7 separate regions of the Homo sapiens genome follow, and regions 2, 3, 4, 5, 6 and 7 are each linked to region 1. Evidence: promoter capture Hi-C in 16 types of primary human blood cells and fetal thymus (Javierre and others, 2016). All regions are on one chromosome and are shown on one strand. Each heading gives the region's core, a stretch centred on a gene start or on the middle of the fragment in contact. The rest is flanking DNA. Distances are from core to core; before and after follow the strand shown.

Region 1 (2,790 bases), core at 152-2,651:
ATTAAATGTCCTAAGTCTGAAAGTATCATTATATTTCAAATATTGTCCACTGCTCCATAAAAGAGTTCTTTAGGCTTTTGCTTTTCTAGAAAAATTTTTTTCATTATTGGCACTAACACTGCAGTAAGATTTTTAAAGCAATCACCTAATATACTGAAATCAGAAATCATGATTAAATAGAATAGGTATAAATATGGGAAAAATTGTAAATTTATACAATTGTGGTTAACTTTTCTCATAGAGAAACAATAAGAATATGAATAGTACGGATAAGGCTAGTTTTATAAACATTTACTAAGCATCATTTTGAAGTGGCACATTAAAAATTCTAAGTCCTTTCGAAAATTACTCAAATTAAAATACACAAAGTGGGAACATAATTTCTTAGAAGACAGTGCTTTCCTTTTCAAACAAAATTCATAGTATTTGCAAAATCAAAATTCGGAGAGAAAGTTTTAGAACAAATACATATTACAATTTAGGTAAGCCAACAATGGCGGTCTGGCTGGACGACAAGAACCTACAATAATGAAATTCTATGTAATTCTCACTCCTAAACTTCCAGATACAAACGACTGATTTTAACACAAAGCAAAATACAGGTTGCCACTTGCAAAACATAAATTCACGGCCATGGCCACAAAGAAGTTAAAATCCTACCCAAAATTATATTCCGGGTTTCCAACGATCTTAATCAATTTGGAACTTAATCTCTGTATCTGAAGATTTGCTGTATAAACAACCCTGGGCAGCGCGAACGACAGGGCCCAGGAAAAAACAGGCTTCAACTGGGCCAGGCTGGAACTCTGCAGCCAAGGAGGCTCAGCCTCAGCGGCCCGTCCTGGCGTAGCTCAAGGTGTCTCTAGACAATTACCTAAGTCCCTGAACTACTCGCACCCCCAGCGATCCAGGGCCGTGGCCCAGTCCTGGAGAAGGTATACTTTTTACCCCTCCCCCTCCACTCTCCTGCCCGCCCCTGACGTTTCTTCCCCCTGCGAGAAAGGCTCCAGAATTTCGCTTAATAAACCTGGTTGAGGCCTGGAAGAAAAGCAATCTGGCAACCGGGGGCCGAAGAACAGGAGAGGACCAAGCGGCGAGACACCAGCACGCACCAGGCAAGCTGGAGAAACTGCAAGAGTCGCCTGACCTGGTCTGCAGCCTGAGACCAAACAACGCGAGGGCGGCCTTACCTCGCGAATCCTCGGGACCCCACAACGCACCCAAAGCCGGCAGGGAGGGTGGTCCGGGGCGCCGGGGACACAGCCGGGCTGGGGCGCCGCGTCAGAGCCAAGTAGGCGTCTCCTGTCAGGTCCAGAGGTCTGAGCAGTGGAGGGAGACTCCGGGAGCCGAAAGTGAAGCGGGTCCCGCACCAAGGAGACGTTGAGGGCCGCACAGGTAGAAGGAAGCCAGGGCGGCCGCAGTAGAATGACAGAGGCGCCGGTCACGTGATCGGAGGCACGTGACTGCTGCGGAAGGCGGAAGCCGGGAGACTCCAAAGCAGCAAGAGGAGGGGCGGGCGCTGCGGCGGGGCTTGTTCGGTGCGGACAACTGGATTCCCGAGTCCGTAACTTGGGCCCCGGAGCGACGCAAGGGTCGGGCCCCAGCCAGCCAGGGCAGGTGGGAGGCGGCGAGCGTGGCGGGCACGCTAAGACCCGCCGCCCCCAGACCTAGTGCCTCGCCTAGGGGAGGCCGAGGACCTCCGCCCGGAAGCAGCTAGCAGAGGCCAAAACGCTCTTATTGTAACCGTCATTCTTTTGAAAAGTTTGATTTCGCGCTTTCAAATTAATTTCCATTTGGATTTAACAGCTCCATGAAGCAGGCGTTCTTATTCTGATTTTAAATAGAAAACTCGGGCTGAGAAGTGGGTCTGAAAAGCTCTCTTAACCTAGGGTTGCACATTTAGCAAATAATAAATTCCATTGCAGTATTTACTTTTATACTAAAAAGTTATTCGTTGTTTATCTAAAATTCACATTTACAGGACGTCTGGTATTTTATCCAACAGTCCCATCTGGAGCCCAAATTTTCCCCTAGTCCAGGCCTCAGCAACTGTCTTTGCCTTAAAGTAAGAATGTACTGCCCTGGAGGTGAAGTATATATGATAGCATGTTTTCCTTAAAAAGCAATGAAAGGGGCCGGGCGCGGTGGCTCACTCCTGTAATCCCAGCACTTTGGGAGGCCGAGGCCAGTGGATCACCTGAGGTCTGGAGTTCGAGACCAGCTGACCAACATGGTGAAACCCCATCTCTACTAAAAATACAAAAAATTAGCTGGGTGTGGTGGCGCATGCCTGTAATCCCAGCTGCTTGGGAGGCTGAGGTAGGAAAATCACTTGAACCCAGGAGGCAGAGGTTGCAGTGAGCCAAGACCGCACCATTGTACTCCAGCCTGGGCAGAAAAAGCAAAACTCCGTCTCAAAAAGAAAAAAAAAAAATTCTTTGAAAGGGATTTATAACCAACCCATTTTTACTCGTAAAATTAAAGTCAGAATAATCAAAATCATGCATTGATTATGAATAAAGATATATAATAACAGTGTCAAAGATTGTACTAGGTCACTCATTCTGTCTTAGCCAGAAGTGAAAGTCTGTTGTTTTGAAAGCAAATCTAAGGGGAAAAACTTTCATAAAAGAGAAAAAGAAACCGATCGTGTACTAAGAAACTCCCAAAAGCTGAAACAGCATGTTTTCTGTGTAACTGAGCAAAGCTGGCAGTGAGGCCTGATCTTCGCATTTCCTTTCTGTATCACCTAAGCCACAGACTGGCGTGATACAGCGAGTCTCATCAGAT
Region 2 (2,790 bases), core at 126-2,625, 1.2 Mb before region 1:
TTGTTAATGAACAAATTTAGGTGAAAAGAAATATCTTTACAGGTAAAATATGAAAGTTTACTTTCTGGAAGTACAATGATATGAATGTAAAGAGCACTGGCCTTGGAGAAAAGAGGTTCTTCTTCTCCCTGGCTATCTGGCCTTGAAGAAATGACTTATCTTCACCTGTTCTTAATTCCATATGTGTATAAGAAAGGGCTAATAGTTTCAGTTGTAAGATAATGAAGTAAAGATGTCTTTGCCTGCTTCTCCTTCATGAAACCAACCAAATACAAAAGGGAAACAAGACACCATCTTGATGAAACCAGGAAACAACTACCACCCCACACATACAATATATGCAGCAAACCTGTGAAGAATATGAAAACTGATCAACTTGGGTCAAATAAAAAGGGCACCCACTGTGAAAGAATAACAAATCTCGGGAACCCAAAATCACTAAGCCAATGGAAAAATCAAGCTGGGAACTATGTCAGGCAAACCTGCCTCCAATTTTATTCCTAAATAAGATAGCTACAAAGATAAGAAAGCTACATACCTCCCTCACAATTTTGCCACAGGGAAATTTCTTGTAGGCTTCAAGATCTTTAACCTAAAACAGTTCTGCTGAATTTCACCTTCACAATGTAAACTGACAGCATATCTTCATATGTGCGGGACAGAAAGTCACACCTCTGCTGACCTGAAACAAAGGCCTATCTGCTTCCTCTGTCTTACTGTTTATTGTTTATGTAAAAATGCAGATGCACTGAGCCAGACTAAATTATGTATTGAGTGAAAGGCTGATCAAGGACTCGAAAGACCCCGCTTCGAGTTATCCTGCCCTTCTGAACCAAACCAATGTACTTCTTACACATAATCATGTCTCATGTCTCCCTAAAATGTATAAAAGCAAACTGTACCCTGACCACCTTGGGCACATGTTACCAGGACCCCCTGAAGCTATGTCTTGGGTGTGTCCTTAACCTTGACAAAATAAATTTTCTAAATTGATTGTGACCTGTCTCACGATAATTTAGGTTCACACCACTATTGCAGACATTTAGCAAAACTTGGGAGAACTGAATCCTCCTTGTGGGAAGCTTGGGTGGACAGCAAGAACCTCTTGGGGCCCTATCTGAAATTAGAGAGTAGCAGAAGAAATAATACCTATTTATGTTACATACTTGCAAAAAGCCAAAGGAAAAAACGTGAGAAAAAGCCCTAGAACTGCTAAATTTTGTCCAAGGAGAAGGACAAAATAAGTCATCTCCATCCCTCTCTTACACATATAGATTCTGCTTCTAACTGGGGATCCCCTGTGATCCAGGGCAGCTTCCTGCTCACCAGGAAGTGCTATCTTATACCCTTTCCTACACTGTCTTATAGAGGAATAATTCTATTCATTCAAACACAAGCAAAAATTTTAACATGAAATCTACACTAAATTACCCTAATTTAGTGTAGAAAAAAAGAATTAAAAGTAAAAAAAACTAAATGCAGAAAAACTTTCTCCAAGAGCAAATGGAAATTATAACCAAATTCTTTTCCTAAGAACTTGGTCTAATTTTGCTTTATAAAAAAGAACTCAACACAGAGATTTAGCTCAGGAAATAAGTTAAAAAGAAACGTATCACTGATTGAAGGCTACACTGGAAGAAGACACGGCTGAAAACAGAGAAGTCTAAATCAAGCTTTAACAACCAAGACAAGTGAAATTAATAGAATTACCATGTAAATGATAGCTAATATATGGAAGAAAAAAGACAGTGTGCACTGAGTCCATTTCAAGATGAAATCTGAAAGAACTATGGACATTTCGGTACAGAAGAGATTGCAGAAGTAGAAGAGAAGACAGATTTAACACTGTCAAAGTATTCTGATTTCTCTACACTACAGTAGTCAAAAGAATGTACTAGGACATTCACAGCAGGTTTAGTCACAATAGTTGAACACTGGAAACAATCTCAATACCTACTAGTAGCAGAACAGATTTAAAAAAAAACTGTGGCATATTCGTACAATAGAATACAATGCAGCAAAGAATACAAACCACGGATACATGCAACAGCATGAATCATTCTCAGGAACATCATGTTGCGTAAAAGAGGCTAGACACAAAAGAACAGAAACTACATTATTCCATTTATTTACATTCAAAAAGAGACCAAGTAATGTTGGTTTAGAAGTCAAGATACTGGTTAGCATTAATGAACAGGGAGGATGAAAACTGATGGGGAGAAAGTCCTAAGTAGGGCTTCTGGGTTGAAACTATTTGTTTTTGTGGGGTTTTGTGTGTGTGTGTGTGTGTGTGTGTGTTTTTTTTTTTTTTTGAGATGAAGTCTCACTCTGTCACACAGGCTGGAGTGCAGTGGTGCGATCTTGGCTCACTGCAACCTCTGCCTCCTGGGTTCAAGCAATTCTCCTACCTCAGCCTCCCGAGCAGCTGGGACTACAGGCACATGCCAGCATGCCCGGCTAATTTTTGCATTTTTTTTTTAAGTAGAGACAGGGTTTCACCATATTAGTCAGGCTGGTCTCAAACTCCTGACCTCATGATCCGCCTGCCTTGGCCTCCCAAAGTGCTGGGATTACAGGCATAAGCTACCACACCTGAAACTATTTTTATCAATGTGTTCATTGTGAAAATTCACTAAGAATGGATGTACAATTATGGTTTGTGCATTTTTCAGTATATCTCAATAAACAAAAATCTATTCTTAAATTTACCAATAAGGTAAATGAGTAAAAGGTCACACCACAGGTAAATGAAGTAATCAGACATAAACTCAGAAAATCTGACTTTAGAGA
Region 3 (2,790 bases), core at 185-2,684, 1.1 Mb before region 1:
TGCCTGGCCAACATGGTGAAACCCCATCTCTACTGAAAATACAAAAGTTAGCTGGGCATGCTGGCTCTCGCCTGTAATCCCAGCTACTCAGGAGGCTGAGGCAGGAGGATCACTCGCACCCGGCAGGTGGAGGTTGCAGTGAGCCGAGAGCATGCCACTGCATTCCAGCTGGTTGGCAGAGTGAGACTCAAAAAAAAAGAAAAGAAGAAGAAAAAAATGTAGATAAAACAAGAAAACAACTTTCTTCATCAATACATGTCTGTCTAAATTTCCATTCTCTAATCTGTAAATGGGGATATTTATCATACCTACCTCATATGGCTGTTGCAGAAAAAAAAAAGAAATCACAGTAAATATTCCCAAAATGTTCTCTAGGGACAGGAAGTAACTCTGTGACATAACACAAAGCACTCAAAAGCATCTGTTGAATAAACAGGGTTTCATAAGCAAATGTACTCTTGGGGTTCTAGTAGCAGTACTCTAAGCAAATGACAAAGCAGAATCCAAATAGTAACTTAGTAACAGAGAGAGATCACATGCAGGTAGCTAATTTTCAGCAGTTTCTTTATCAGCCAATGTGTTCCCAGTATCTTATATTAAAAAAAAAAAAGTAATCAACTTGGTTTAATATATTTTAACATCATATATGAATAAGTACTCCTTGGTTCCACATAAACAGTTACTAAGTATGTGTATCCTCTCTTCCACCTTATTCCCATTAAGCTATCTAATTCAGATCTTCCTACTGCATATCGGGCTCTAACAATTACCTATCTGAGCACCTACTATCTGCAGATTCCATCTCAGATGACACCACCAACTACATAATCTTAGATTCTTTTAATGTTTACTTCTCCCCAAACTAAAAATGCTTCATAACTTCTACTCAAGTATAAATTCCTTAGACTGACACTCCACTATTTCCTTTATTTGGGTCCCTACATGAAGCTCCATACCATTTAGGCTGATCTCCTGAAATGAGGTGCATGAATAAATGGATTTTCATGCCTCTACTCATGTCATTCCACAGCTTCCATTATGTAACCAAGAATTCACAAATATTCTGTCGTAAAGTCTTCCTCAATGTACTGGCTGTCAGTGGTCTTGTTCCTGAAGTACTGACAGCCCATACTTCAAATTCCAACTATTCAAGTAAGTGTTGGTATTCAGAACATAAATAAATGCCCTGCTACACTTTTTTGCCACTTGCCAAATAACTTACATCGCCCAAGCTGTATTGCAAATGGCTAAAAAAAATTTTGGTCATGACATATCATACCTCAATACCTAACATACTACCTAGAGACAGTAAACAGTCAATAAATGTTTGCGGTCAAAACCATGGATAAGGACTACGGCAACCAAAACTGAAATCAGAAAGTTGCTCAGAGAGAATCCACAGGAACACTGTCGCTATTTATTCACAAGACTGTATACTTTATGTTACATACTCCTATATGCTATCAAAATAACATGATCCCATGAAACTGAATTCTCTCCTTTGTATGCCACAATTGTTAAAAAACATTCAGCAAAAAGGGACATCAGTAACCAAGTACATATTTGGTCACCCTGAAATAAAAAATACTTGGAAAGAAATAAGAGATCTGGTTTTTAGTCCTAGCTTCACATCTTTACTCCTGTGATTTCAGGAGTTATCCAATTTCTCTGAATCTCAGTTTCGTCATCTTAAAACATAAAGGGGTACACTAGATTATTCTTCTGATCTTCTATAAATAGTCAAATCATACATTAAACATGAGTCTAACACACTGAACAAATACTAATTTTAAGAAACTTATTGTGTGTTAGTGCCAAAAAGTAATAAAAAGCACATTACCTGCCTTCCAAAAAGTTCAATAATACTAATATGAAGAGAGGTATGCAAAAGTTAGACTGAGAAAGAATGGACAAGAATTCACACAAAGGTGACATTAAAAAAAAAAAAAAAAAAACACAAAAGTATATGTAAAATCAAGTTCCAACTAGAAACTGACAGTTTACCCTCACTGATCACATTACTAAAACTTAAGAGGATAAACTTAATAAACCAATGATTTCTTTTAAGAAAACAATCATTAAAAGGAGCTAATTCTTTTATTAACTTGCAACTTTGGGAATGCTTATTATGTACATGTACCCCTAATTTACGTAAAGTCCATTAAATCCTGTAAGTGGGTTGACTCTCTATGATCTAGAACTAAAGTTATTGCATGTAATTGTTAAGTAAGGTACAAGCACAGAAATCAACTGCTATTCAAGGAATTATAAAGTAACTTTATAAGCCTTATATAAATAAGCCTAGTACATAAGTATTACTTTTCACCAAATAGTCACGATTTCCTAAAATCTGACTTGATGCTCATTTTATATAAAGTCCTTCTTAACTTTTATAAAATGAAACCATATTTAATACTATACAAGTTAACACAAGCCAATTCTAAATTAAAAGTAACAGGTTAGTAACTCAACAACTGACACAAGATTTTCTTAAATTATTTGACCCTCTGCTTAAACAGTCTTTAGTTTCTACCCACTAAGAATTACTATAAACTGCCTACCATATATACTGAGACTTCGTAGGACAGAACAACTGTCAAAACATGTCAAACATACTCATAACTCACACGGTAGTTAACAAGTTAGTAGGAATCATGATGCATTAATAAACATAATGCATGAAACTGAACAGATCCAAATTGATCTTTATACATGCATACCTGCACTTGTGTATCTATACAATAATGGTGGGATTTCAAATTGGGGAGAAAGGATCAACTTTTCATGCAA
Region 4 (2,790 bases), core at 183-2,682, 1.1 Mb before region 1:
TACTAAAAATACAACATTAGCCAGTGGCGCATGCCTGTAATCCCAGATACTCAGTAGGCTGAGACAGGAGAATCACTTGAACCCAGGAGGCGGAGGTCGCAGTGAGCCGAGATCGCACCATTGCATTCCAGCCTGGGCAACAAGAGCGAAACTCCGTCTCAAAAAAAGAAAAAAAAAATAAATATAATTGCAGTAACAAATTTATATGATATTAATTCTTTACCAAAGTACATTCAGTTTATTGGGAAGATCATGGTAAACATCTTAATTTTGTCAACTCTGCCTGAGGCATTCAGCACATGTATTAAATATTTCTCAAACAACTTAGTGTCATTACCCTAATTTTCTTTTAGGCAATGTTCAAACAACCAGCAACCACAATTCACATAATTTGGCTTTATTCAAAGTATGAGGCACAATTATTGTTCATTTTTAAAAGGGTTAAAAAGATGTACGTTTTGGACTTTGTTTTTAAAACCATAACTAATTTGGTGTATATGATTATGTACTATTTAGAGGCTGCTGGCACTATGATGATTAAGTTAATGTTTTCAGTACTGCTTATAGACCTGAAAGCTGCCCTTCTCAGCTGGTTTGTGGGTACTCAAACATACTAATAATGATGATGGCTAACTTAGGAATGACCATCTTCAAAGCTAGTGATGACTTGATGAGCTCATAAGCAACACTGTTTCCAATGCTGCAGCAACATAGTCAAGAAAACACTTCTAGAATGCTTAATTTCCTGAAAGATTTAAACCAATAGATTAAGACAAAACATTTGTAGTCATTTTTCAGATTGAAAGAGATATCTTTTTGCATCATGTTTTATTAGGTTCTTGTCTTTCATTATTTTGAAGAGCTGCCTAGCAAAGTGTCCAAAAATAGAGCTGGCACTGTTTATAAAATGCCTTAAGGCAGAAGTTAATCAGTCATGTAGACACAGATACAGAACTGATTCAAATGTCAAGTGGTAGTTGGACTTCAGGTGGTGACTTTCTAACTTTTACTGTGATCCACATTAAGAAATACAGTTTCACATTGTGACCTGGTATACATACACAGGAAAAAGTACTTGCTGCTTGTGATATACTCTGATACCTTCTATTGTTTTTTTTTCCTCTTGCTAGTCTTACACATTACATCGATTTTACTATCATCCAATGGTTTCAGAGATATTAGATTCAATGACTTAGGCCCCAAACCTTGAGATTCTTTGTTCCTGATTTTTCTGTCAGTGCCTTCCTATTTCTGTCAGTGCCTCAGTAGTGTTTATAAATAAATGCTTCTTTTTTTTTTTTTTTGAGATGGGAGTTTCACTCTCGTTGCGGAGGCTGGAGTGCAATGGCGCAATCTCAGCTCACTGCAACCTCTGCCTCCCGGGTTCAAGTGATTTTCCTGCCTCAGCCTCCCGAGTAGCTGGGATTACAGGCATGCACCACCACACCTGGCTAATTTTGTATTTTTAGTAGAGACGGGGTTTCTCCATGTTGGTCAGGCTGGTCTCGAACTCCTGACCTCAGGTGATCTGCCCTCCTTGGCCTCCCAAAGTGCTGGGATTACAGGCGTGAGCCACCGCGGCTGGTCAATAAATGTATTTTTTAAAAAGCATGACCTAACGGAGCTCATGAAACACTTATGGGTGTATCTTAGATGCCAGACATGGGTTTTAAATTTATCAACCTGTTTAGTTGTCTTAGCAGCCCTATGCAGTTTCTGTAAATTTTCTTTGATTTTACAGATGGGGCAATAAGGCATGGAGTGGTTAAGTTGCTAATTCAATGTACTTCCTTCTAGTTAGTGTTCTTAAATTAGTAACTGTCAAGGCCAGGATTTGAACCCAGGTAATCCAATTGTACGGGCTATATCCTATATATCCTATGCATAGCCTATGCTCCCCCTTAATTTGGTGCTGGTCCTGCAGGGGTTAAAAAAAATTGGCTCAGCAAGGTGGCTCCCAGCTTACACCAGTAATCCCAGCACTTGGGGAGGCCAAGGCAGGTGGATAGCCCTGAGTTCAGAAGTTCTAGACCTGCCTGGACAATGTGGCAAAACCCCATCTCTACCAAGAATACAAAAAAAAAAAAAAATTAGCCAGGCATGTGGTGGCATACGCCTGTAGTTCCAGCCACTTGGGAAGCTGAGGTGGGAAGATTGCTTGAGCCTGGGAGGCAGAGGTTGCAGTGAGCTAAGATTGCACTGCTGCATTCCAGCCTGGGCAACAGGGTGAGACCCTGTCTCAAAAACAAAAAAAGAAAAAATGTCTAGCAATAGGTTACAGAGTTTCTCAATCTCATACCTACCAGTTAATTCTTTGTTATAAGGGGCTGTCCTGTACATTTTAGGATGTTGAACCTCCTTGGCTTCTGCCCACTAGATGCCAGTAGCACCCCAGTTATGACAATCAAAAATGCCTCTGGACATTTTGTAATGTTCCCAGAGGGACAAAATCAACCCCTTTCTCAGAATTCAGGGAAAACGTGGTACATCTATATAATGAAATACTATGCAGCCATTAATATTATATTTTAGAAGAATATTTAAAACAGGCCTGGCATGGTGGCTCACACCTGTAATCTCAGCACTCTGGTAGGCTGAGGTAGGAGAATCACTTGAGGCCAGGAGTTTGAGACCAGCTTGGACAACATAGCGAAACCCTGTCTCTACAAAAATAAAAGTAAAAATATAGACCAGGCGCGGTGGCTCACGCCTGTAATCCCAGCACTTTGGGAGGCCGAGGCGGGTGGATCACGAGGTCAGGAGATCGAGACCATCCTGGCTAACATGGTG
Region 5 (2,790 bases), core at 191-2,690, 1.1 Mb before region 1:
AAATATGGCGTGCTCTCACTCACAGTGGGGGGCTAAAAAAAAGTTGAACTCATGGAGGTAGAGAATAGAATGATAGTTACCATAGACTGGGATGGATGGGTGTGCATTGGGAGGTGCAGGGGTATGAGGAGAGGTTGGTTAATGGGTGCAAAAAATACAGTTAGATAGAAGAAATAAGTAAGTTACAGTGTTCAATAGAAGAGTAGGGTTACTATAATTAACAACGTGTTGTATATTTCACAATAGCTAGAAGAGAGGTTTAAAATGCTCCCAGCACACAGAAATGATCAATGGTCGAGGTGAAAGATATCCTAAACACTCTGACTTGATCATTACATATTCTATGCATGTAACAAAATGTCACATGGACCCTATAAATATGTATAAATACTATGTATCAATAAAAATAATTTAAATATTTGAACAGCAATACAAAAGAAATATCTTATTTTTACATTTGGAAGTTTAAAACTTTATTTTCTTTCCATATCCCTAGAACTAGTCCTAAGCTCTAGGCAATTCGGACCAATCTAAAAGAAACTATTGTGTGTTAAACATGACTGAATGTTGAGTGATGGTTGAAGAGGCCAGGTGTCAGATTTGTGTTTGGCACAAGCCTCAAAGGAGGTATTTAGCTCACTTTGTATCTTCATAGTACAGAGTTTTGGCTGTTTCCAAGTAGTATATAGTTTTTGGATAAATGGTGTTGAATGTAGGCAGTTGTTTACAATGCTATGTCTACATCATGTGAAATCTCCAGATATCTGTAAGCAAACAGCAATCTAAGGGAAATTTTCTGCTTTTTCCTGGATATTTGACATCATGTAGTCTAAATCTGGCAGTCTCCTAAATACATGTCTTCTTTCAGAATTCTATATTCCATGTTTTTCTCATATTACAACAGCAGCTAAGACATGTCAGTCACTCTCCTTGTTCTTGGAGCTATAGTAGCTCTTGCAAGTGAGGTTGATTTTGATGTATGATAAGATTTCTAGACATTTCAAGGGGATAGTATAATAGCTAACATGATTCAAATTATAGTTTCATCCTATCATGGGAACTATATATTTTTAAATAGAAAAAGTATAAAGAATATTATTCACCATAGTTTGTAAATAAAATCTGTATGGATAGATGTATTGTTTCCCATAAGAGTTATGGTCACATTAGTAAATGGAGTGATTCTAGTTCTATAAAGCTGTAGTGAATTATTGTAATTTTGTGCTGCCTTAGCAAGCATTTTGAATATAAGTTGGACTTCCTCATACAAAAAGCAAGGCTTAGTTGCCCTTAACATAATAATAGTTTCCAGCTCTCCATATCCTCCCATTTCCTCAAGGTTGTTGATGTAGATATCTGCCCTATACAACTGCCTGTAATGTGACAGGTCCCCCACCTTGATTACTTAAGGGTGGATGTCCGCTGCTTACTCGCTGAAGGCCAAGCAGTGAACCAAGGCCAGGGTGTCCAGTTGAGGTTCAGGTGCCCCTGAGAACCCAAACATCCCCGGGCATAGGTAGGAACATTCCAAGGAAAACAGTCTCATCACACATAGGCAGTAGCCAAAGAGCCAGATCATTAGCTTGAAAGTAGCTTGGAGATGGATGGTGACATGGATTTCTAAAAATGTCCTGCTGCCACTCAGGAGTGCACTGTATGTAAGTCCTAATCAATTCATCTACTCGCCAAGCTGGACTTACTCAAATCATTCTTTTTGTCTCTTGGCTCCTTCCCAGTTTGGGAAGGGACATTACAGATTTTTCTCATAACAACTGGTGTCACTAACCTAGGATCTAAGAGACCAAATGATGAATCAGGAAGGAGCATCTGTTGGGGGAATCACAGGGTAGTCAGAGGCATAAATGTGGAGTGGAGTTACCCCACTGCTCAACCTTTGTGGGCCACTGTGTGGGGACAGGGATGCTCAGACAACACCACTGGGGACTGAGTACCTATTACAAAAAACTAAGATGTTAAAATATGATATGGACAGCAAATATGCCATGTGGTAAGGTCGGCTACTGAGAAATTGTTAGAGCAGGAAAGGAAAGAAGGGTAGAATTTCCTGTGGCTTACACATTTAAAAAGATGAAAAAGTTCAAAGCCACAACAGATTTTCTAGGACTCCAGCTGGATGCAGGCCCATCCTTGCACACAGTTTTTAACTGATGGGCAAATTACAGCAAGAAAAAAATTCAAAGCTCAAATGATTAACCTGCAACTATACAGTTAAGTAGAGTCTTCTAGATTTCTCTATTTCTCTCTTTTCTTTTTTGCCTGCTTTGAATCTACCGTTATTAAGCTACTTGTGTTGAGATAAAACTCATTGTTTATGGTTTTGCTAATTCAACGCTACATGGACATTTTATTTTTCTTATTAAATTCAGCCAGTTCCAGCTAAAATGTAAACATTGGAAACTCCTATGAAACTGCAGAAGAAAAGGTAAAAGAGCTTTTAAAAAATCAGACTGCTATGGAAACTGCTTTACTCCAAATTTTTTTTCTTTCCTTGGATTATTTACAGGGGGAAACAAAGTTTAGCCATGTGACAGGTTGTAATTTAGTCAAAAATAATTTGGATCCTGCTATCTTTTTTTTTAGAGATGGAGTCACACTCTGTCGCCCAGGCTGGAGTGCAGTGGCGTCATCTCCACTCACTGCAACCTCCACCCCCTGGGTTCAAGCGATTCTTCTGTCTCAGCCTCCTGAGTAGCTGGGATTACAGGCACCTGCCACCCTATCTGGCTAATTTTTTGTATTTTTAGTAGAGACAGGGTTTCACTCTCTTGG
Region 6 (2,790 bases), core at 179-2,678, 1.1 Mb before region 1:
TAGCACATAATTAGATAAGCATGTATGGAAAGTATGTTGTTACAAAGAGTTTACTCTGAAGGACCCATAGTAAGTCCTCTAAACCAGTGCTTAATCTAATTAGTTCTTGTAGCTAATGACAAATTACATAGTTTTATAAATTACCAGTGGTCACTAAAAATTATTACTATCACCAAGTCTGTTTTCTTGATTTTTCTTATAGGTTGATTTTAGTGCATTTGAGCTACAATCATATTTTATTATCTGGAAAATGCCTCGAAGACATCTGTGGATCTACAAACTTCCAGGGCTACTCTCTGCATACAAAGGAGGCATGAACAGGCCTTTCTACTCAGAAGTGGACTAAGGTGAATCCATCAGCTGACATCCGTCATAGTTCTTTGTGTACCAAACACCTCATGTATGTTGAAATTAGCTGATTTCATGATTCAAAATAGACCCCATCTTCAGCCTCAAGGTTGTCCAGTGCATCCCCAGTTCAACCTCAGAAGAACCTTTTCAGAAGCCACCAGCTCATGACACATTCCTTCTGGGGGTCTCTGGTGGGCACAGAATAAGCCCCCCTTCCCCTCAGGGTCTGCCTGTCTGCCCCTTAACCTGTTCTCCTGCTCCTCCATTCCAGGTTCCCTCCACCTAAGGCAAACTGCCCGGGGCAACTGCCCAGCATGGAAAGCTTTGGTCTTCACGGTCTTGACTTTTTACCAGCATCTCTGAAGCCCCAAAGTCACATAAGAATTTATTTGACTGAAAATTATTTAAGAACTTTATGTGTTAATTTTCCTTATAAAGTGAAAGTTGATCACTTTCTTTTCCCATATGTCCTTTGCCCAGACACAACTTATTGTTACTCTGTTTTCAATATCGAAGCAAGAAATGGAATTCATTGTGAGCCTGCCCCAGTGCTATTCAGACTCATTCTATCCAGGGAGCAACTTCACTCCATAATTTGTGTAGATACAGTTACTTACCTACCCACTCTCTAGTACATAACTCCCCATACACACCCACGGACTTCTTCCCCTAGGGAACTAGTCAGTGGTGTGTCTCCCTTTACCAGGCAAGTGCATGAAATCAGTGCATGATGTGCTGGTCAATGTGGTGATCTTTTCCCCTCTTTTAACCTGGGGAAGAGAGTTTATGGCAGAAACCACAGCTTTAATCCACACATCTTTGTGTACCAACCTCAGTGTTCTACAAGGCAGAGAAGAGAATGGGTCCAGCGATTCCTCCTGAGCAGTTGTCACGGAAATCTCTTGCTCTCCTTTGGGAAGATGAGTTTTACTCTCAATGATGCATTGATACTCACCATTATTACAAGGACTAGTGAACAAGAACTTGTTATGTGCCAGCACTGTGCTATGCTTCACTCAAGCCAGTTAATTCCTGCACTCTCCTGCATTACTGAATGATTTTTCTTTTCTTCTGAATGGTAGTTTTTAAATGTAGGACTACTGTTTCTTCATCATTTGAGTTTGGGAATTAGGCCTCAAATGAGGCAGCTTATGAAATCTGCTTTGGAGGTCAGGGGTCTTCTCCATAGTGGAAAACATCTACCTGACCCTTTTTAGGCCCCAAACTCCTCTCCAGGGTGTAGTGAATGCATGGCACTGGCATCCCTCCTGTAAATGGAGGGGCTTAGATCTCTGGAGGAAACTTCTGGGCTAGTATGTGGCTACCACGAGAATGGCTACAAGTGGGAATAAAAGGGCTTTGATCACCTTAGTCTTGAGTTCCAGGCAGTTTTTCTGGGCCATGTCACTGATCAAGCATGGTGACATCAAAGTAAGGTATTTTCCTTTTTTTTTTTTTGAAATAGTGTCTCACTCTGTCGCCCAGGCTGGAGTGCAGTGGTGCAATCATGGATCACTGCAGCGTCCGCCTCCTGGGCTCAAGAGATCCTCCCACCTCAGCCTCCAGAGGAGCTGGGACTGCAGGTGCACACCATTACACCTGGCTAATTTTTGTATTTTTTACAGAGATGGGGTTTCACCATGTTACCCAGGCTGGTCTCAAACTCCTGGCCTCAAGTGATCCACTCGCCTTGGCCTCTGAAAGTGCTAGGATTACAGGGGTGAGCCACTAAGCCCAGCCTGGTATCTTCTTTTGTACTTTTCAGAAGAACTCAAAATGGATGAGTTTGCATAAAACTGCATCTGCTGCTCTAGTGCCAGTGAATAGGCCATGAAGCTTCTGGCTCAGATGGGACTTTAGATCTATGACCTGCTGGGTATTCAGAAAGCAGCCACAGATAGCATAGGAGTTCAAGACAACAATGGTGCGTGAACCACCATGGGTCAAGAGGAGCCGTTGATCTGATCTGATCTCCGCTGTCCCCCCATGGCTTTCGTGCAGACATAGCTGGCAGCCTGATGGCGGTGCTGTGGAAGCAGGCCCTTCACTGGGGTACTGGCAGACTGGTTGAAGAGTCTACCTACAGGGGAGTGTCGAGTCCGGCTCTCCCTATGGGCAACAGGCAAGCCACACAGAGGACCAACTCTTGAACAAACGTTGGTAACATTTGTGGTACTGAGGGTTGAAAGCTAGGGGGATTCTTAAAACTATTAGGAGATTCTCTCTTGCTAGTGAAACAGATGGGAAGCAGAGGAACTACTGCACTTTGGACATTGACTTCAGTTTTAATCACAGACTGTTAAGGCTAGGACATATTTTTCTTTAACTTTTAGACTCGGGGTGCATGCGCAGGTTTGTTATATAGGAAAACTTGTGTCACGGGGTTTTGTTGTACAGATTATTTCATCACCCAGGTACTAAGCCTAGTGCTCAATAGTT
Region 7 (2,790 bases), core at 99-2,598, 1.0 Mb before region 1:
GTCAGTATTTTCCTTTTAAAGATTTGTGTGTTTGGGTATGTCATGTCTACTAACAGACAATGGTACCATTTTCCTGTAAGTTCTTTGGTATGAATTAATTAAACGTATTTCTCTTTTTTACCATGTCATAGGTTTAGACTATACCGAAGAACTTGCAGTGAAACATGAAGGTCTACTTTCCTTGTCCAACCCCTCACTGCACACACACTCCTACCTTGCCTGCCTGGGCAACCACATTCACTGCTTAGCACTCAGCATTCTAGCTCTTTCTCTACGCATTTACACACGTCTGTAGATCTCATTATAAAGCCATAAATGATATCCAAGTACAGGTTTGCTTATTTTGCTTGCTTTTTCCATGCAACAGGATGTCTTTGAAACTTTAAATGTCAGTACAAATAAGTCTGCCTTATTCTTTTTACTTTCTTGGAAATGTAAAATGTCAGTACAGATAAGTCTGCCTTACTCCTTTTAGTGGCTAAATGGTATTGCATAGTGTTTATCCTATAATTTATTTAAGTACTTCTACCATGATCAATATGCAGTCATTTTTAAATTGTTTTGCTATTACCAAAATTTCAGAAAGTGGAATTATTAGTTTTATTTTCTAAGGTTTAGTCTAATTTTCATCTGCTTGATAGTTCTTTTTGTATTCAGTATGAGAGTTAGGAGATAAGGCTGTCAGCCATACATTGAGCAGCCCATTTTTATCAAATTTAAACTGATATTTTCTTATATTAAAAAAATTATTATGCCTAATTAATTCTGCTTCTTGACTCATTGTTCTTATTTTTCCTATTGTTATGTCAAGACCACAGTTTTAATTACCAAAAAATGATAAAATGCTTTATCTGCTTGAGCAAGTTAATCTATATTATATTTTTTTCTAAAAGTATTTAGGTAATTTTTATTATTTATTTCCTAAATGGGGTAGAGATAGCTTGTCAAAATATGGAATATTTAAAGGTTATTTTATACTAATAGATTAATTTGGGGGATATTGACCTTTTAGAGTATTAAGTCTCCCACAATAACTATGTCATGTCTCTCCTTTTTTTTCTGTTTTTCTCTGATGCATATTTTTCTTTCCATTTACCTTCGTATCTATACCATCATTTTGATATTATAAATGGGATCTTTTCCTTTTTACTTTTTTTTGGGGGGATGGTACAGAGTCTCACTCTGTTGCCAGGCTGGAGTGGAGTGGCGCAGTCTCAGTTCACTGCAGCCTCCACCTCCTGGGTTCAAGCAATTCTCCTGCCTCAGCCTCCCAAATAGCTGGGATTACAGGAGTGTGCCACCATGCCCAGCTAATTTTTGTATTTTTAGTAGAGACGAGGTTTCACCATGTTGGCCAGGCTGGTCTCAAGCTCCTGGCCTCAAGCAATCCACCTGCCTTGGCCTCCCAAAGTGCTGGGATTACAGGCATGAGTCACCTCTCTTGGCCATTCTTATTAAATTTTATAATTTGTTATTGCTGCTATATCAGAAAGTTATTTTCTTTGCATATTTATCTTGCATCATTAAAAACCAGTCTTGTCTCTAAGAACTTAAAAATTTATGAAAAAATATAAAGTTAATATTCAAATTAGAATATAGGAATAATTAGGGTGTAATTCTGTGACCTATTGTGTAAATTACCTTCAGGGTTCTAAAAGGTTCAAATACACTTATAATGACCATAAGGAGCTTAATGGAGGAGCAACTCAACCTGATCCTTTAGGAAAAGGCAGCTCCCTAAGCAATGGATTACAGTGAACAATGGCATGAAGATGAGATTTAGTATGGTATATGCTTAAAACAGTGATTAGCGTTTCTTGGCAGATCAGAGAGGGAAGCTAAAATCCAGTGAGAATAATGGATAGAAGGGTAGGGTGGCAGTTGTGAAGACTCTTCAAAGTCAAGTGGAGTAGTTTGGAATTAATTCGATAAGTAAGGGAATTCATCCTGGGGTCAGAGAAGTGCCATCCAGACAGTAGAACTGTAGAATTATTTCTGGCACATCGAATGCAGTTGGAACCAGGGTGAACTTGCTAGGAAGCTATTCGAATCATACAATCTGACAGAGAAAAGGGCCTGAAACAAGGATAATGGTAAATAAATGATGCATTTCCAAAAAGGAAAAAATCAGATGAAAAAACTGAATATGAAAGAAGAATAAAATACTTAAAATATTTTTATTTTAGTAGACTAGATTAAGAGTAGTACTGTTGTAGGAGACAGAGGACTAGAGAGACTGATATGGGGAACAGGAGGATTTATTTGGGTGTACACCAGATCAGTGGATTCATATCTGAAAAGCTGAGCATTGAACAAAGACTGAGTGGGGTTTTTATAAGCAAATTTACAGAAGCAGAACAAAAGCAATCAATCATACAGTGACAGATCATGTAATCTATAGCATAACTGTTGCCTTAGCATAACTTGTGGCCTTGCATAGCTAGTGGACTTGCAGTTGCATCAAAATAAAAACAGAAACTGGCTAAATACAGACATTTGTAAAACGCGGTCATAATTATTAGTTCAGAGAAGGAGAGACAGTAAAGGAATTTGTTTTTCTTTTCAACTTTGCTCCAGAGGGGGCTGTCTGGAGAATATTCCTTTGGCCTCAGCTTTTCAGATAGTGTTATCTTATAACTGTCCTTGAAGTGAACTGGCTAAGTAGAGGAAAACTTGTGTTTCTCACTTAACCCTTGCTTTATTCTGTTTCTCTCTTTTAATTTCTGCATCAATATGATTGCCAAAGAGGATGGAAAGCTGTTTTAGTGAGAAATAAAAATAAGTTTGGGT

Evidence for each region. Contacts are between HindIII fragments. The CHiCAGO score rates a contact against its expected background, and 5 or more counts as called.
Region 2: a fragment that was not itself captured here is called in contact with the fragment with the promoter of ATP6V1H in region 1 in 10 of 17 cell types (non-activated CD4 T cells, naive CD8 T cells, naive CD4 T cells and 7 more); the score reaches 12.3 in non-activated CD4 T cells.
Region 3: a contact is called between a fragment that was not itself captured here and the fragment with the promoter of ATP6V1H in region 1, in 8 of 17 cell types (non-activated CD4 T cells, activated CD4 T cells, fetal thymus and 5 more). The highest score is 12.4, in non-activated CD4 T cells.
Region 4: a contact is called between a fragment that was not itself captured here and the fragment with the promoter of ATP6V1H in region 1, in 15 of 17 cell types (fetal thymus, naive CD8 T cells, total CD4 T cells and 12 more). The highest score is 26.3, in fetal thymus.
Region 5: a contact is called between a fragment that was not itself captured here and the fragment with the promoter of ATP6V1H in region 1, in 6 of 17 cell types (naive CD4 T cells, naive CD8 T cells, activated CD4 T cells and 3 more). The highest score is 6.8, in naive CD4 T cells.
Region 6: a fragment that was not itself captured here is called in contact with the fragment with the promoter of ATP6V1H in region 1 in 1 of 17 cell types (naive CD8 T cells); the score reaches 5.0 in naive CD8 T cells.
Region 7: a contact is called between a fragment that was not itself captured here and the fragment with the promoter of ATP6V1H in region 1, in 1 of 17 cell types (non-activated CD4 T cells). The highest score is 5.6, in non-activated CD4 T cells.

What each region holds. Positions count from the first base shown.
Region 1 is chr8:53,841,844-53,844,633 of GRCh38, forward strand. It overlaps ATP6V1H (ATPase H+ transporting V1 subunit H), which reads right to left and starts at 1,402. Exons shown (of 14, transcript NM_015941.4): 1 at 1,191-1,402. RefSeq lists enhancers at 1,351-1,490, 2,788-2,790 and a silencer at 1,561-1,710. The HindIII fragment of the contact is 7,596 bases long and covers 1-2,790 here.
Region 2 is chr8:52,678,698-52,681,487 of GRCh38, forward strand. The region is part of intron 5 of RB1CC1 (RB1 inducible coiled-coil 1); the gene reads right to left. Among named protein-coding and RNA genes, the nearest start is that of RB1CC1, 34 kb to the right of the region's middle. The HindIII fragment of the contact is 591 bases long and covers 1,081-1,671 here.
Region 3 is chr8:52,702,520-52,705,309 of GRCh38, forward strand. All of the region lies in intron 1 of RB1CC1 (RB1 inducible coiled-coil 1), which reads right to left. Among named protein-coding and RNA genes, the nearest start is that of RB1CC1, 11 kb to the right of the region's middle. The HindIII fragment of the contact is 8,152 bases long and covers 1-2,790 here.
Region 4 is chr8:52,719,043-52,721,832 of GRCh38, forward strand. No RefSeq gene overlaps it. Among named protein-coding and RNA genes, the nearest start is that of RB1CC1, 6.0 kb to the left of the region's middle. The HindIII fragment of the contact is 4,259 bases long and covers 1-2,790 here.
Region 5 is chr8:52,758,675-52,761,464 of GRCh38, forward strand. All of the region lies in intron 2 of LOC105375835 (a long non-coding RNA gene), which reads left to right. Among named protein-coding and RNA genes, the nearest start is that of RB1CC1, 46 kb to the left of the region's middle. The HindIII fragment of the contact is 4,900 bases long and covers 1-2,790 here.
Region 6 is chr8:52,776,244-52,779,033 of GRCh38, forward strand. LOC105375835 (a long non-coding RNA gene) reads left to right here. Exons shown (of 7, transcript XR_001745898.2): 6 at 203-347; 7 at 623-2,790. Among named protein-coding and RNA genes, the nearest start is that of RB1CC1, 63 kb to the left of the region's middle. The HindIII fragment of the contact is 1,514 bases long and covers 672-2,185 here.
Region 7 is chr8:52,803,907-52,806,696 of GRCh38, forward strand. No RefSeq gene overlaps it. Among named protein-coding and RNA genes, the nearest start is that of RB1CC1, 91 kb to the left of the region's middle. The HindIII fragment of the contact is 3,510 bases long and covers 1-2,790 here.